Regions from separate parts of the Homo sapiens genome. Here region 2 is linked to region 1. Evidence: promoter capture Hi-C in human tissues and cell types (Jung and others, 2019). All regions are on one chromosome and are shown on one strand. The core of a region is centred on a gene start or on the middle of the fragment in contact, and the rest is flanking DNA. Distances in the headings are between cores, read along the strand shown. Region 1 holds the start of PDK2 (pyruvate dehydrogenase kinase 2). Region 2 holds the start of PPP1R9B (protein phosphatase 1 regulatory subunit 9B).

Region 1 (4,973 bases), core at 1,603-4,102:
CTCCTACACCTAGCCTTAGAGGCCACGGCCTTTTCCTTGTTACTTTAATTTTGACAATAACAGCAATAGCTACCATTTATTGCTAGGCACAGAAATAAGCCTTTTTTTTTTTTTTTTTTTTTTTTTTTGAGACCGGGTCTCAGTCAGTTACCCAGATTGGAGTGCCGTGGCACAATCATGGCTCTGGCTCACTGCAGCCTTGACCTCTGGGGCTCAAGGAATCTTCCTACTTCAGCCTCCCAAGTAGCTGGGACTATAGGTACATGCCACCACACTCAGCTAATTTTATATTTTTTGTAGGGACAAGATCTTGCTATGCTGCCCAGGCTGGTCTCGAACTCCTGGGCTCAAGCAATCCTCCTACCTCAGCCTCCCAAAGTGAGGGCCAGGTTTTTTTGTACATAATATTCTATATATTATTCTGTGCACTTGAAAACTGCACTCACCAGCATCATCAATCACGTCCTAATTGCTAGCCCAGTGGATGTTTGGTGGTTCTCTGGAATATCTCTGTGGTGTGCTCCTCTGCTTGCCCTGTCTTCTTTTTCACCCTGTCCTCCCTACTAGGTGCTGAGTACTGCCTGATGCTAGAGATAGGGCAGTGAATAAGACAGATACAACCCCTGCCCTGCCCTCACGGAGCTTAAAGTCTAGCGGGAAAACAGATCAGTTGGCAAACAATTTTCACTCAATTGATAAGAGCTACCATCAGCTCCTTTTAACCCCTCCTTCCTGGATTTGTCCAGGTAGCTTTCAGCCAATCCCTTTCCTCGACGAGGTACCTGTTTCACATGTCCTGATCTTTCCTTGTCCTCTCTTAAGGGGTCTTGTGGATTCCCAGTCTGGATGACAGTGACCCAGACTGCGAATATTTGCTAAGACCAGGAGATCTAAGGAGCCCTTGAAGGGAGCCTATAACCCAGCTTGGCAGGATCAAGGAAGGCTTCCAGGAGGAAGGGATGACTAAGCAGCTGAGACCTGAAGAATGGGCAGGTGAAGGTGGGAAGAAAGAATGATCCAGACAGAAGAGATGCATTTGCAGTGGCTTAGAGATTAGAGGCTGGTTCAAGGCAGCAGACAGGTATGGCTGGGAGCTGCATGGGGGAATGTAGAGAGAGGAGTCTGGAGAATTAAGCAAAAGTCAATCGACTTGTGACAACTGGAAAGGCTCCAGTAAGAAGAAGAGAGCCATTGATGGCCTAGCACAGTGCCTCATACCTGTAATCCCTGCACTTTGGGAGGTTGAGGCGGGCAGATCACTTGAGGTCAGGAATTCAAGACCAGCCTGGCCAACATGGTGAAACCCTGTCTCTACTAAAATTACAAAAATTAGCCAGGCATGGTAGTACATGCCTGTTATCCCAGCTACTTGGAAAGCTGAGACAGGAGAATCGCTTGAACCTGGGAGGAGAAGTTTGCAGTGAGCCAAGGTTGTGCCACTGCACTCCAGCTTGGACGACAGAGGGAGACTCAATCTCAAAAAAAAAAAAAAAAAAAAAAAAAATAGCCCATTGAAAGGCTGTGAGCAAGGAAGTAATAAGGTCAGATTTGCAGTTGAGAATGATCCCTGAGTCTCGGTTTTCTTATCTATGAAATGAGGCTAAGAATAATAAAATAGAGAATTAAATGAGATAATGCCTGTAAACAGTGCCTGGCATATAGCTTATTATTCATCCAGCTAAGAGGCCCTTCCATATGTGAAGCTTTGCTCTGTGAGGTCTGTATTACAATCACATTCAGTTATAGCTAATTATTTACTTATGTAGCTATCTCTGAAACTTAGAAATGAAATCATCGAGGAAAAAGGCCATTTCTTGATCCTGTCTGTGTTCCCTGTTCCCAGCATAAAGCCTAACACGTATTAGGCTAATGTCACCGAGCAAAGAAAGCATCAAAGTGGCGGGTCGGGCCCTAAACCCACGATGGGAGATACCACATTCGGCCACAAGAGGGCGCGTCACATTTTCTCCAAGAGAAGCTGGGCCGCTGATGAAGGACGGGCTCCGGGCCTCCCAGAGACACTTCACCTCCTGGGATCTTGCTCTAAGGAAGCCCGGTGCGAAGGAGGTGGCTTTCTCAGGTGGTCGCGCTAGATGTCCAAGGCTTTATGTTCGGTCAGATGAGCTGTATAATAAAATGAAAGTGTTAACTGGCATGGACGATAGCTGCTGCCTCCACCGCCACTAGTAGTGATGGTTTTTACTCTGGATGTTTTTCAGTTGGAAAAGCAAACTCCGCCTTTTCCTGAGCCGCTTGGATCTTTGTGGAAGCGGGTGGGCTGCATATATACAGGACGGATTCGTATAGGCTTGCACCCTGGTTCCGAATTTTGCAAATATTCGCAGTCTGGGTCACTGTCATCCGGACTGGGAATCCCCAAGACCCGTTAAGGGAGGATAGGTAACGATCATGACAGGTGAAACAGGTACCTTTGAGTTGGAGAAAAGGGATTGGTTGAAAGCTACCTAGACAACTCTGGAAAGGAAGGGTTAAAAGGAGCCTGCAGGTGAAGGAGATGCGAGGGGGTAGCAAGGGAAAGGCAGGCGTGGAAGAGGAAGCGAAAGGGCTGGCGGGGCTCTGGGAAGGAAGGGGTTAACCCGGGCTTCGCCCCGCGGAGGAAAGGGAGGAGTGAACACAGGGGAGGTGGGAACTCGGCGCGGCCTCCCCAAAACAACAGGCCGCCCCGGCAAAGCGTGGGTTAAGGGGGCGGGCCCGGGGGAAGCCACGTGCCGGGGCGGAAGGCTATTGGTTCGCCCGGAGTTGTTTGTGAGTGGCCATTGGCGACGTCGAGGCGCCATGACGAGCCGATTGGCTGGGCGTTGGAATGCCCGCCAGGGCAAGGGTAGGGAGGAGGCGGCCGAACCGCGTCGCTGGGCCGAAAGGTGCGCGAGCGCTGCCCGCGCGGGGACCACAACCAAAGTCGCGGCCGCCGCAGCCATGCGCTGGGTGTGGGCGCTGCTGAAGAATGCGTCCCTGGCAGGGGCGCCCAAGTACATAGAGCACTTCAGCAAGTTCTCCCCGTCCCCGCTGTCCATGAAGCAGTTTCTGGACTTCGGTACGGAGTGGGCGGGAGGCGGCTGGCAGCGGAGGCCGGCGGGGCGCTGGGAGGGGCAGCCGGGGGCTAGGGGGACGGAGGAGAAGAAAGGCCCCGAGTGACAGAGAAGGGTTGTTTGGAAAGGTACAGGCAGGAAAGAGTTAATGGGGAAGCAGGAACCGGCCGGGGCCTCTCGACGGGGCTGCTGATGGGAATGGGGGGCATTTACAAGGACGGTCCCGAGGTTTCTTCGTGGGCCTCATGAAGGGTCTTGAAGAGTAAGGGGCAGTGAAGCTGTGATGTTACTGCAGGAAGGGAGTAGGGTGGTATCCAGACGCGAAAGGGTTAATGGGAGTTGTCCTCATGACTGGAGGAGTAGGGGCCCCTCCTCCCACCAGAGGAAACCGGGGGTCTGCTGGTGGGAGTGAGGAGGCAGGGTTTAGAGGTGCAGCCATCTGTAGAGAGACCTGGACTGGGCATGAAGGGTCAGACACCCCTGGGCAGAGGGTGAGATTAAGCCAGGGGCAGTTGGGGAAGGGGGCTCTTTCAGAAGATGCCATTGGGAGACAGTGCCCTGACTGGTAGACATCCACCCACAGAAGGAGCTGGACCCTAGCTGCCCCAGTGGGCAAGGACACTTGAAGATCAAATCTGTTCCGGCCTGGCAGCCTCTCCCCAGCTGGGCAGGGGCCCCAGGCACCGTGATGTGGAGTCAAGCCGCCTATACCTCCCTTGGCTGCCCCAGGGCTGCTAGGTCAGGATCGCCCACTACCAGCAACCTGGGGGTGGCCCTGGGGCAGGAGGGAGGCTGTGCCAACGTGGCAGCTGAAATGGGCATTGTGTGGGCCCTGTCTGTCTATGTGGTATTTCCATGGTGCCAGCTGGGGACTGGGGGTGGGGGGCAGTCTCTCAAGAGTTGAGTTGATAGTGCCTAGCTTGGGTTGCAGCTGCGTCAATGATGGGACGGGAACAGAGAGGTGGCAGCCGAGACATAAGGCACCTGTTCCTCAGGACTTGTCTGCCTGCACCCCTGCCCTGCCTGAGTCTTGAGCCTCCCCCATGTAGGAAAGCCTCCTGGGCCCACCCCTAGCCCCCAGCAGCTGTCCCCACAAACTGCACCCTAATTACAGAAACATCACAGCTGTGAGGGGCTCACAGTAGAGTTTGGTCAACTTGTAGTACTATGGGGGAAACTGAGACCTTCAAAAGGATGATGGCATGGCCTGGGTGACAGAGTTGGAAGCAGAGCCTGATGGACTGGAACCCAGGGCCCCTGACCCTGGGCCAAGGCCATATTCGGTCCCCCACCCTTTCCATCTTGACACCAGACAAGGACCGAGGCATTTGGACTCCTGTTCTCAGGCCCGTTTGCCCCATGGATGGGCATTAAGACACAGCAGCCCCACATGGGCATTCAGGCCAGGCTGGGTGAGGTGGGCTGGCCAGAGACAACACTGGGAGCCTGCAGTGGTGGTCTAGCCATAGCCCCCCTCAGCCAGAGCCCAGTCCTAGGTAGGGATGGGTTTCCCAGGCTCCTTTGTCCCCTGGAATCAGCCCCTCAAAGTGAGTGTGCTGGGAGGGAAGGAAAGAGAAGTGAGGTGACTGAGGCCAGAGGCAGCTCCAAATGGGCCCAGGAGTGGCCCTGTCCACTGTGGTTAAAGGCAAGCAGGGTTCAGCTGGGGATGAGGAGAGGATGACACCTCCTGAAGTGTTAGGCATGGGGTGTAGGTGTTTGAGCCCTGCAGGGGATGGGGAGCCTTGCTGTGTGCCCCGGGCAGGTCACTTGCTCTCTGAGCCCCCTGTTAATGAAGGGTTTAGCTGACCTGGCCGAGACATCCTTTGGCTTTCATAGTCTGTGGCTCTGTGGCTCACCCCTCTTTCTCCTGCCAGGATCCAGCAATGCCTGTGAGAAAACCTCCTTCACCTTCCTCAGGCAGGA
Region 2 (4,385 bases), core at 1,404-3,903, 55 kb after region 1:
GCGGACCTGGGGCCGGGTGCAGCTGAGCCTGGGGCGGTGAGGAAGAACCCTGCAGGCTGAATGTGCTAGCCAAGAGTGGAGGGTGGTGGGAAGTGGGGGGAGGGGTGGCCTGGGGTTTTTGATTCCCCCCAGGGGATGTTCCCTCCCCATCAGGGCTGTTCTGAGGATCTCAAAGCTCTGGCACAACCCACAAACCAACCACCAATAGTGGCCGTGGGGATGAGACCCCCAAAAGGGGCAGCTCCCATCCCTCTTTCAGGGCTCCCAGAGAATGTGGCAAGAACACTTGGGGCCTGCCAAGGCCATGGGAGTCTGTCCTATTGAGCAGCCAAGAGTAAAGGCATGCCCACTACTGCCAGGCACCCAGGGGGATCCCAGCCCCACCTCCTCCTCCTCCATGCCTGCAGAAGGCCTCTCCCCATCAAGGACCACACAAAGTGCCCCTCCCTGTGCAAGGAGGACCGGGCAGCTGGCCTGCAGGGACCCCCAGGGAACACGGCGCCAGCCAGTCACATGGCCACAGACCAGCTCACCCTCACGATCTGCTTCCCTCTTTCACTTCTGCAAAGTTGGGGTGGGGGTACAAACAGAATAGAGGAAGGGCTGCCTGCGGTCCCCTGCAGCTTCGTTTTGAGAAGTTCCTGGCTTTCCCCTTTCTCACCTCATCCAGCTCCCATACAGGGGGAAAGCACCCCGGCCCCCTCTCTACCCAGTGAAGGGCAAATGTCTCTCCTGAAGACACACACACCCCTTCACACTACCCAACCCCAGCCTCTGGCAGCCTCTGGAGGAAGGAATGTCCGGGTGAGGAAGGGAAAGCAGGTGTCCCAGGACCCGCGTGGGGCAGGGCGGGTTCCGCGGAGCGGCGGGGCGGGGCAGCAGGCGGAGGAACCTGAGGGCAGGTCGGGGCAGGCCACCCCCCTCGCACACCTGAAAATCCCTCTCTGACAAACAGCTGGAACTCCCCCACGCCCCCCTGAGGGTGGGAACTTCTGGGAAGGGGGCTGGGTGGCAGGGGCTGACTCAGCCTGCCAAACCCGGCTGGCTGGCTGGCGAGCGGGGGCGGCCGCGTGCACGTGGCAGGGGCGGCGCGGGGGCAGGGCGGGGGGGCTCACTTACTTGGATGGGCGCCGTGCTGAAATGGATCTTCCGGCTCGGGGCTGGGTCCTCCTCCTCCGACAGCCCCGGGATCTCCACGCACCCCGACTCGGGCTCGTAGGGGGGCTCCCCATCCTCCTCGTCGTCTTCGTCGTCCTCCTCCAGGGCACTGCCCGCAGAGTCCTCCCCGAGCCCACTGTAGGCGCTCACGTCCACCAAGTCCGCCTCCGAGAAGTCCTCCTTCTTGGATTCATCTACCTCCTCAGGGGCCACGTCCGGGGCCCGGCCATTGCCCACCCCCCTCTCTGGCGGCGCTACCGCCGCCGCCTCCTTCTCCGGGGCCGCTTGGGCCTTTGGCTCCTCGGGCGCGGGGCTGGCTGCAGTTGCCACGGTGCTGCCATTCTCCAGGGCCGCGTGGACCGTAACCTCGGCCTGGATCACCTCCCCGGGCGCCGACTCGGCCTCCGACTCCCCGCTCTCCTCCACCTCCACCGGCTTAATCTTGCGCACCTCCCGGGGCTTGGGGGGCGGCCGGGCAGGGGCCACTCGGTGCTGCGGGGGCTGCTGCCCTGCGGGGCATCGCTCTTTCTCGGCCGGGGCATCCCCCGACGGGGCGGGCGGCGGCGGCGGCGGGGGCTGGAACACCCGGGACCGCTTGCTGACCAGCTTCGAGTTGACCTGGGGAACCCCTGCGGCCCTGGGGAGCCCGGGCCCGCGGTGGAGGCCGGTCCTCGAGTCGGCCTTCTCGAAGACGGCGCTGAGCTGGCTGACCGTGGGGGACACGGCGTCAGCGTCCAGCTTGTCCAGCGCCTCGGTGCTGCCGTTGAAGCGCACCACGACGTCCAGCTTCCGGTCCTGCAGGCCGGCGCGCTCCTGCCTCAGCAGCCGCCGCGCCGCGGCCTCCTTGTCGCCGCCTGCGGCCGCTGGGGCGCTCCGTTCGAACAGCTTCCGCGTCTCCTGCAGCCGGGACGGCGGGTGCGGCGGCGGCGCAGGCTGCGCGGAGGGCGCGGGCTTGGAGTCGAAGCGGCTCACGCGCTCCGACACGCTGGTGCCCAGCTTCAGCAGGGCGCTGTGGTCCACGTTCTCGTTCAGGCTGCTGGCCCGCGGCAGCGACAGGCGCACGCCGCGCTCGGACGCCCGTGGGGCCTCGGCCAGGCCCGCGCCGCCGCCCGCCTCGCCCGAGGGCCCCGCCGTCGTGCCCATCTGCAGGAACATACTTTTGATGCGGTGGACGTTGGAGCCATATTTCTTGTGGTGGGCCCCCTTGGGTGCCTCGTCGGGCCCGGGCGCGTCGGGCGGCTTCAGCGCCTGGATGCCCGCCTCGTAGGCGCTGCGGTGCGGGGAGGCGCTCCGGAGGGGACCCCCGGGCCCCCGTGGCTCCGTCTTCATCATGGTGGGGGGAGCCGGGTTCGCATGCCCCTGCTCCCCGCTCCCCCGCTTCAACAGGCGGCTGGCCAAGTCGGGACCACCGCCCCCTCCCCCCGATAAAAGAAACCCCGAAGGCCTTTTTTAGGGTCCCCCCAAAACCAAGCTGCCAAAAACAGTTAATCCCGCTTTAAAAAAAAAAATGAAAAAAAAAAAATCTCCAAGCGCCCTGTGTGTGGGTCGCCTCCCCCAATCAAGCTGCCGAAGACAGCCAGCCCCGCTTCAAAAGCCCGAGCGGCCTGGTACGGTCGCCCCCACCCAAATTAGCAAAGCGGCGTCTGGGGCCGGTGGGAGCGCGCGCCCTGCCCGCGAAGCAGCCGCGGTGTCGCCGGCTCACATCGTCCGAGACGGTGTCAGCGGGGCTGGCAGCCCGGGCGTCCCCCAGTCCGGCCGGAGGCCTCGGCTCTCGGGGGGCCCGGCACCCCAACGCCCATGGCTGCTCCGCCGGCCCGGGCCGCTCCGCCGCCGCGCCTCCCTCCCTCCCTCCCTCCCCCCCGTGCCCCGAGCCTCGGTCTTTCTCTGGCTTTGCCCGAGCGGCGGCTGCCGGAGACCGAGCGGCTGCCCTTCTCGCAGCCGCCGCTGGGGGACTGGCACCTCTGGGTCCTAAAGGGATCGGATTTCCGGGGCCGGAGCCTGTGAGCCCTCCCCTTCCCCTCCACCCGAACGGATCCCCTCCCCTCCCCAGCCCTCGCGGAGAGCCTTCCGCTGCCCCCGGACGTTGGCCAGCACTCTTCAACCTGCTTCCATCACAACTTCTGACTGCGGTCACAACCCACAGAACCGCACCTCCATGAAATATTGGGGGGAGGCAGTACATCCACGATGGTCTCAGTGTGAGGGGAGGGGGTTTGTAGGGAGGGGCAGAGGTTCATTCTTCAGTGTCCTCGGAGCTAGCTCTTCGGTGTGCTTCAAGCCTTTAGCATCAGAATCGCTGGGCACTTGGTAAAAATGCAGATTTCTGGGATCTCTCTCGAACCTTGTGAAGGAGAATCTCCGAGGCTGAACCCAGGAATCTGCATTTTAACACTTCACTACAGGCAATCTTTGGCCCCCTTGGAGGTGTGAAACCTTGGTCCAGCGCTGGTGACCTTTCGATGGTGGGGGAGGGGTGGTGAAGAAAGGAGGTGAACCCCGTCATCCAAGTAGCAGGGGATCACCAAAACTGCCGAAGTCTGGAAAGGATGTCCTGTCGCCTGTCTGCTGTGCACCCGTCTTCAGGCCCCTACCCTGGCACTCCTGCCTCTCAAACCGGAAGGAAGGGTTTGGGAGCAGGAATTCGAGAGGCCTGGGGCCAAAGTTTCGCCAGTGAGAGCTCTAACTTGGGTCTCTGATTTAAAGGATCCTGGCCACTGTGTTCCGGTTGGGGTGGGGGGGTGGGGAGGGTGACAGTGACTTACACATCCCCTGTCCTGGCAACCCAGAAAGCTGTTTGATGCCCTCTGCACCCCCCGCATACACAGCTAGGGTGCTGGCGCTGCCTGGGCCCTGGGTGTGAGAGTCCGCCCTCTGGACAGGTCCAGGTGAGCTGGTTCATTCCACACATCCCAGAAACTGGTGAACACAATGGGCCCTAGGACCCAGAGAACAACTCAGGCACAAAGCCTCCCCCCACTCCCAGCTGCTTCCTGCATCTCAGGCCTTTCTGCGGCCTCTGCCTCCTCCCCCGCCCTCTTCCCCTCCATCCTCTTCCTCCTTTTCCTAATCTCCCACTCTCTCCCCCCTGGCCTGGAAGGGCTGGCAAAGGGAGCCCTCCTACCACTCCACTGCAGGGGTGTGTGTGGGTTTTGTGGGATATTAACGCGTTACCATGTGCAAAAGAGCTTAGAGTACAGCGTGGGGGATGGGGTGTGGGGAAGCCGCCT

Evidence for each region. Contacts are between HindIII fragments. The study calls those that stand out against the background at their distance.
Region 2: a contact is called between the fragment with the promoter of PPP1R9B here and the fragment with the promoter of PDK2 in region 1, in 3 of the 25 tissues and cell types used here (IMR-90 fibroblasts, dorsolateral prefrontal cortex and hippocampus).

What each region holds. Positions count from the first base shown.
Region 1 is chr17:50,092,499-50,097,471 of GRCh38, forward strand. PDK2 (pyruvate dehydrogenase kinase 2) reads left to right here and starts at 2,853. Exons shown (of 11, transcript NM_002611.5): 1 at 2,853-3,055; 2 at 4,925-4,973. The coding sequence starts at 2,938. It overlaps LOC124904024 (a long non-coding RNA gene), which reads left to right and starts at 364. Exons shown (of 2, transcript XR_007065837.1): 1 at 364-1,081; 2 at 1,844-2,155. RefSeq lists enhancers at 2,012-2,221, 3,253-3,768, 3,769-4,284 and a silencer at 2,602-2,721. The HindIII fragment of the contact is 10,814 bases long and covers 1-4,973 here.
Region 2 is chr17:50,148,024-50,152,408 of GRCh38, forward strand. It overlaps PPP1R9B (protein phosphatase 1 regulatory subunit 9B), which reads right to left and starts at 2,654. Exons shown (of 10, transcript NM_032595.5): 1 at 1,120-2,654. The coding sequence starts at 2,490. It overlaps LOC124904025 (a long non-coding RNA gene), which reads left to right and starts at 712. Exons shown (of 3, transcript XR_007065841.1): 1 at 712-804. RefSeq lists enhancers at 236-305, 3,025-3,319 and silencers at 1,036-1,155, 2,006-2,115, 2,765-2,854, 2,925-3,014. The HindIII fragment of the contact is 6,486 bases long and covers 1-4,385 here.